Linked DNA regions of Homo sapiens: region 2 is linked to region 1. The links are contacts of gene promoters, found by promoter capture Hi-C in human tissues and cell types (Jung and others, 2019). All regions are on one chromosome and are shown on one strand. Each heading gives the region's core, a stretch centred on a gene start or on the middle of the fragment in contact. The rest is flanking DNA. Distances are from core to core; before and after follow the strand shown. Region 1 holds the start of SEL1L3 (SEL1L family member 3). Region 2 overlaps STIM2 (stromal interaction molecule 2).

The links. Contacts are between HindIII fragments. The study calls those that stand out against the background at their distance.
Region 2: a fragment that was not itself captured here is called in contact with the fragment with the promoter of SEL1L3 in region 1 in 1 of the 25 tissues and cell types used here (heart left ventricle).

Annotation. Positions count from the first base shown.
Region 1 is chr4:25,861,072-25,864,767 of GRCh38, reverse strand. It overlaps SEL1L3 (SEL1L family member 3), which reads left to right and starts at 1,780. Exons shown (of 24, transcript NM_015187.5): 1 at 1,780-2,093. The coding sequence starts at 1,932. It overlaps LOC102723733 (a long non-coding RNA gene), which reads right to left and starts at 3,641. Exons shown (of 2, transcript XR_427503.5): 1 at 2,615-3,641. RefSeq lists silencers at 1,547-1,706, 1,757-2,216, 2,487-2,781. The HindIII fragment of the contact is 7,102 bases long and covers 1-3,696 here.
Region 2 is chr4:26,975,915-26,979,497 of GRCh38, reverse strand. All of the region lies in intron 3 of STIM2 (stromal interaction molecule 2), which reads right to left. Among named protein-coding and RNA genes, the nearest start is that of STIM2, 120 kb to the right of the region's middle. The HindIII fragment of the contact is 5,400 bases long and covers 1-3,583 here.

The DNA.
Region 1 (3,696 bases), core at 531-3,030:
AGAAGAATGTTAAGTGCTTTGTTTCTGCAGAAGTGGAACAGAGATAGTGGGAGCATCTGTCAAAACCCCCAAAATGCTTTAATGTGGTGGCAGCTGGCTGGGAGGAGCAGGAGCCCAGTTCCCTAAAAGCCAATAGTTCTGGAAATGGAGGAGGGCTGTTTGAACCAGCGCGTTAACATCACCCAGGAGCTTGTTAGAAAGGTACATTCTCAAGTCCCTCCCAGGACCAACTGAGTCAGAAATTCTAGGGCTGAAGTCCAGGAATCTGTGTTTTAACAATCCCTCCAGGTAATTCTGAAGTTTGAGAACCGGTGGAATAAGGCCAGGGAACTCACACAAGGCCACAGCTCTTAGGTGACCTAAAAAAAAGTGGACGACAGCTGAGGAGCCACCATGCCTGGTGTGGCCAGGCCTGTACTGAAGCAGCTGAGGGCGCGTCCACGCCCGTCAAACCATCCCGGGCACCCCGTCTCACCACCAGCCTCTCCCCGACGTCTGTTGTGACTTGACCTATGCTCGTGGCACAGGGAAAGGGCTGTGGCCTCTCAGGCTCCCAGGCTATTATTAGTTCCAATCCGCACAAATCTACCAGTGCTAAAGGGAAGCTTCTGCGAACTTTGGAAGGTGGATTAACTGTTTCAGAGCAGCAGCTGCGGGCCCAGATAGTTGTCGGAGCCGCTAGACACAGCCAAGCGCTTCCCTGAAAGCCAAGGCCGGCGGCGAGCTGGTGGTCCCGCCGGCCGGAGGCCCCTCCCCGCCAGGCCGCAGAACCCGGGTCGGAGAGCAGCCAGTCTCAACCTGCGTCCCCAAGGCCGAGGATGTGTCCTGGTTTTTTAAAAAGCTGTTTGCGCACTTCCAGGGCCTCACCCCTTTCATTTGGGGCTCCAGTATTACTGTATTGACCTAATTAATTCATTTTTTTCTCAGTCCAAAGTGGAAGCCGGAGCACAGGGATGCAAATCAAATACAAACCCGTCCTGGGTGCCAATACTCTGGACAATTAAAACAAAGAGCGCAGTGGTGGCGGTGGCGGCGGCACCACACAAAACCCTCGGGAAACATCCAGAACGTGCCGCGAACCAGCCGGCAGGGTGGGGCGCAGCCCGGCTGCAAACATGCCAGCAAGGAGGCAGTCCCAACCCCGCAGGTGGACAGGTGGAGGTTGGCAGGGGTCAAAATCCATCCTGAAGGCCTGGGAGCCGGGCAGCTGCGCGGCACAACTCCAGGGGGCACACTCGCCCTGCGCCCTGCGGGAATGGCGCCCCGGCCAAAAAAGCAACCAGACAAAAACCCATTGCACGGGCGGGAACTGGTCTGTGCGACCCGCAAAAGGGGTGGGTGGGAGAGGAAGAATGCGGAAGCGAGGAAGAGGATGGGAAGGGAGAAAGAGGAAAGGGAGGAAAAGGAGAAAGTGAAAAAGAGAGGGGGTTTGGGAGCGCGAGGGGAGAAGGAAGAGGGAGCCGGAGGGAGAGGAGGGGGATCGCAGAGAGCAGGAGCGCGGAAGGGGGGCGGGGGAGGAGCAGAGAGAAAGGGAAAGGGGGGTGCGCCGGGGCCCAGCGACCCGGGCGGGGGGTGGCGGCGGCCAAGGGGCGGGACCCGGGTCGGTGCCCACCTGCGTGGGCGCCCGCTGCTCCGAGGGGTGGAAGCCCGGGGGCCAGAGGGAGCGGCCGGGAGGAGGGCTGGGCAGGGAGGCAGAGGGGAGGGAGGGGACGGGGACGGGGAGGCGGGGAGGAGCCGGCGCTCGGCTGGGGCTGCGGGGGCGGCGACGGCGGGAGCGGCAGTGGCGGCGGCGGCGGGTCCGGAGGTGGCGGCAGGTGGCCCCGCGCGCGGCGGCCGGCCCGGCCGGGGGCGGGCGGGAAGGTGGCGCCTCGGGCGGGGGCCGGTCCCTGCACCAGGTGACCTGTTCCGGCCCGGATCCGGGCGGCCTCGCCATGCAGCGGCGCGGCGCGGGGCTCGGGTGGCCGCGGCAGCAGCAGCAGCAACCCCCGCCGCTCGCGGTCGGCCCCCGGGCCGCAGCCATGGTCCCGAGTGGCGGCGTCCCCCAGGGCCTCGGCGGCCGCTCTGCCTGCGCGCTGCTCCTGCTCTGCTACCTGGTGAGCGCCGGACCCTGCCCGGGTCTTCCCCTCCGCGCGGGGCCCCGGGGACGCGGGTGGGGGCGGCCGGGGACACCCGCCACGCGGGGCGGGGACGCCGCTGCTAGTTTTCTCTCTTCCTCGTCGCTGCGCCCCGGGCGTTCCCGGCACCTGGGATAGGTACCCCGGGCGTGGAGAGGGGCGCTTGGACCGGACTTGCCAAGCTGCTCTCTCGCTCGTGCTCATTCCTTTCCCTCCTGGACTCTCTCTAGACCCGGGTCGGGTTACCCTCGAGACCCCTTCTTGTCCTCGACTCCACCCGGGAGCCTCGCCGCCCGGAGTTCGCTCCCCGCCCCGCCGCGCGCAGTCTCCAGCACCCCCCAACCCCCCACCCCTCCTGGGCTTCCCTCTCAATCTTCTCGCAGCTCCTTTCCTTCCCGTGCCCAACTTCGCCTCTTACTCTCGGCGCCCGCCACCCGCGTCGACCCTCCTTTTAGTTTCCACCGGGTCCTCCCGGCCCGGACAGTTTTCTGCCAACGCACCTCGCATCTCCAGCGCTCTTCAACTCCTCCTTGGTCACTCCAGCCAAGTTGCGGATGCCGGAAAGAAATCTAGTTCTCTGTAACACGCTTACCGCCAGAGTGGTGACTTTAGCTGCGTCTTGAACATTGTCATTTCAGAGAATATGTTTGGCTCATGCATGTCAGTTTGCAATTTGCACACTTCTTGGCTTCTGTTTTAGTCATCAACTAAAGGGCAGTAACCTATTTTTCAAAACCCATTTATTTTAAATACCAGAGTAGCTGAGACCCCTCAGAACAAAGTGGGGAGAAATTTTCTCAGTTCCTTTGAGGGCTTGCTTGCTTCTGTTTTGAGTTCTCCTAAACAATAGTAAATTTACAGAAGGCGACACCCTTCCTGCCCAGAGTAACTTATGTTCCACAATCCTGCAGAAACCTTGGGTTATCTCGCCATATATTACTGTAAATAAATGAAATGGAAAATGCTGAATCATGAAACTGATGTAATAGGAAATTCACAGAATGCCAAAAAAAAAAAAAAAAAGAGCAGTGTCATTGTCCAGAATTCATTTCACTTATGTGGCATTGTCATTATTTGGAGTCTTTCTTTTTGGAAGCTAAAAACTGCTTAGGAGATACTGGCAGAAATTAGAATTTGATTCTGAAGAAATTTGCCACTCAGCCCGTTTCTTTTAACGTTTTTTACTTCTTGAATGTTTCATTTCTTGAAGCAAGAAGGTGTAAAAATGCAAATTATAATTCTGCCTGTGCATCTACCTGTTGAGCAATCCGTGCTTTTACTCATATTTCAGAATTAGCCAATATCAAATTGTGTGGTTGGGCTTACTTCATATTTTCATAAGAAGTTGTCAGTTAACATGAATGATATTTTTTTGCCCAAGAGATATTATTATTTAATATTTATGCCACAAGGTTACAACACACAGGCTCATAAATAAAACTGCCATAACAAATGACAAGATTTCAGTTTAAACAGATGATCCCTGTACACAGGGCCCTGCTGGCTACCCACAGAAGCAGAAGTGATGTAGTAGAGTGTTGCGTGAAACATTCATATACAAATGGGCCGGGCCGAAAAGTTC
Region 2 (3,583 bases), core at 779-3,278, 1.1 Mb before region 1:
ACTGCAAAAACCTTCCACGTTCTTAAGCTTCAGTACAAAGTGTAACAGTAGTTGGTATTCTTAGATATTACTGAAGTGTGACAATTACTATTTCTCTTTTGAGAGTGGTTAGCTCATGAAGAACCATCTACTCAAATTTACCAGTATTCAGAAAGCATCTCTTTCTCAAGATTTTCAAACTAACTCAGCACAGACAGCGCCTACTTTTTGCTGCCTCAAATTCACTTTTCTCCTCCTCCATTGATGCTTTTAAAAATACCTATGTTTCATCTTTAACAATACAGACATGTTTGGAGATTCTAGGTAAACTCACCTAGGGTTTCAAAGTAAAAAGTACCAGGCAATAGTAAAAATCTGTAATAGCCAGGAAGATTTTGGAAGTTTTCAGTGGTGAGAGTTACATTAGCTCATTTCATTAAAATACCAAAATGGGATTTAATAAAATGTCTCTATTTAGGAAGTGATACACTCAATTACCGTAAAATTCAGAGTGGGACCAAAAGAGGCCTTTCAGAAAATCCATTTATGGTCCAAAAGTTTTGAACTGCAAGTTTCAGGAACTTAGAGATGTTCTGAAAGAGTAGCTATATTTTATATCACATGACCCATGCTGCCAGACACCACCCACCCAACCCTGCATCCTTTCAAGGTTTTCTTCTACCTGCTCTTCTCAAAGTCTAGTGATTCTTGGTCATTAATCTGTAATGGCTGGCTGGCTGCTAGGTTACTCCTTCTCTCTCTTCCTTCTTTGGAGACAAGACTCCAAATCACCCGGAGTAGGCAGATGGGGAAAGAAGTAATCACAGGACCCCATTCTGGAGGTCACAGCAGCAGATCTAGATTTGGCCACAAGACCTAAGCCAGTTACTTTCTGGCATTTCTCTAACTAGAACAGGCAGGCAAGACTCCTAGTTCTCTTTGGCCATGATCCTAGGAAAACATAAGCCTGCAACTGCCACCAGCCACAGAACTAGCCTCTAGGAAACACAGGAGGAGAAAATAACACCAAAATCCAGAAAGAAACAGAGAAAGACAGGACCTGGGCCAGGGTGGATTAAGCCCCTGACTATACACCAGCACTCTCCTATTAAATAGGGATAGTTTTTAAATTAAGATAGTTTGATCTTCTCCTGTATCAATTATTTCTTAACTGGGTCATTCCATATATATATAATATATATTCATATATATAGATTTATATTTTCATATATATGAAAATATATATATGATTTAAATATATATGTATATATGTGTATATATGTATATATGATTAAAATCTCCTATCATTTAAAAAAAATTATTCACAACATTATCTCCCTTCATGTATCAGAGTCCCATTTCTTGGCTCTTCCTTTTTAAAGTCAACAATATTTATTGTCCTTACTTCCTGTTTAATCCATTCCAATCAAAGACTTTTACTTCTACTCCTACAGTGAATCTGTCTCTGTTAAGATCAATAACCTTAACTTCGACTTTGCCAATCCAATTGTCAAGTCTGTGTTGTCATCTTATTCAGATTTCTGGAACATGTGACATTGCTTTTTCTTAAAATGCTTTCTTCACTAAGCGTCTAGGTCCCCACATTCTCCTGGCTCTCCTCCTATCTCACCGGCCATTTCTTCCCCACCTTCTCTCCAGGGTCCTCCTCTACTTCTTGACCTCACAGCACTCAGTCCTTCCCTCTTTGCGCCATGATCTCAACCAGTATTTTTCAATGTTTTCCCCCATTATTAACAACCTCCCCCATGAGACTTCAGATTTCTGGGTTTTTTCCTAATTACTCCTATTCCCAAGAAATTTCAATGCCACATAAAACCTAAGAATGAACTTTTATTCCTGTCCCTGTCCCCCACTAGTAACCTGAATTCAATTCCACAGCAAATCCTGCCAGCTATTTCCTCAAAATATATCATGAAATCAGACTTTCCAGCCATTTCCTTCTCACCAGATTACCATCACCTCTCACCAGTTCACGCGAAGCCTCAACAGGTCTTCTACTTCTACTCCTGACCCCTTCTCCTCAAGAGTCTAATATTCACACAGTAATTACAATAATCATTTTGAAAGATAAGTCACATCACTACTTTGCTCAAAACTCCTAAATGGAGTTATACTTGCAATATACTTACATTATCCATATAGTAAATCTCAAATTCCTTATTGGCCCTACCAGGTCCTATGAGATCTGTCCCTGTCTGTCTCCCTGATCAATTTGTCTCCCACCACTCTTCCCATTCCTTACTACTTTCTAGCTACTTGAGCCTTCCAACAGTTTCCTAAACACTTTAAGGTTGTGTCAGCCGTAAGCCTTGGTGTGGCTGGTCCCTAAACCTGGAATATACTTCACCCAGATTGTCCCCTGACTCACCCTCTAGCGCCACTCTGATCTATAACCAAAAACCTCTTCTTGGGGGACTTCTTCCTTGACCACATTATCTAACTAGCCCTTGTTCCATCTGCTCACTAACTATACTGTTACCCTGCTTTATTTTTTCACATAAATAACCTGTACCAGCAGTTGTGTGAGTGTATATGTAGCTACACACATACATACATGCAAACTTGTTCACTGTCTCTCTAAAAGAGCGTTAACTCCATCAGGGAAGAATATCTATTTTGTTCAATGCTCTATCCCCAAAGCCTAGAATAATGCCTGTCCTGTCTCACAGGAAAAATAATTTTTTTTGTTTTTTTGAGACAGAGTCCCACTCTGTCACCCAGGCTGGAGTGCAGTGTTATGATCTCGGCTCACTGCAACCTATGCATCCCAGGTTGAAACAATCCTCGTGCCTCAGCCTCTCGAGTAGCTGGAATTACAGGTGCGCACCACACCCAGCTAATTTTTGTATTTTTAGTAGGACAGGGTTTCATCATGTTGGCCAGGCTGGTCTCAAACTCCTGACCTCAAGTGATCCACCTGCCTAGACCTCCCAAACTGCTGGGATTACAGCATAAAGTTTTGATTATATATAAATAAAGAAAGCAGGTGAGTCTGATTTTTGTAACTTGCAATCAATCAAATCATTGGTGATGAAGCATCTTTACAATCAACTTCTCATTACTTGAGGTAATTTGAGTCTCCATCTCTTGCCACTAAAAAAAAAAAAAAAAAAAAGACTCCCAAGATGGCCGAATAGGAACAGCTCCGATCTGCAGCTCCCAGCGTGATCCATGCAGAAGACAGGTGATTTCTGCATTTCCAATAGGTACCTGGTTCATCTCATTGGGACTGGCTGGGCAACGTGTGCAGCCAACGGAGGGCGAGCTGAAGCAGGGCAGGGCATCGCATCACCCGAGAAGTGCAAGGGGTCGGGGGATTTCCCTTTCCTAGCCAAGGGAAGCCATGACAGACTACCTGGAAAATCGGAACACTCCCGCCCAAATACTGCGCTTTCCCCAAGGTCTTAGCAACCAGCAGACAAGGAGATTCTCTCCTGTGCCTGGTTCGGCGGTCCCACACCCACGAAGCCTTGCTCACTGCTAGCGCAGCAGTCTGAGATTGAACTGTAAGGTGGCAGCCTGGCTTGGGGAGGGGTGTGTGCCATTGCTGAGGCTTGAATAGGTAAACAAAGCAGCCTGGTAG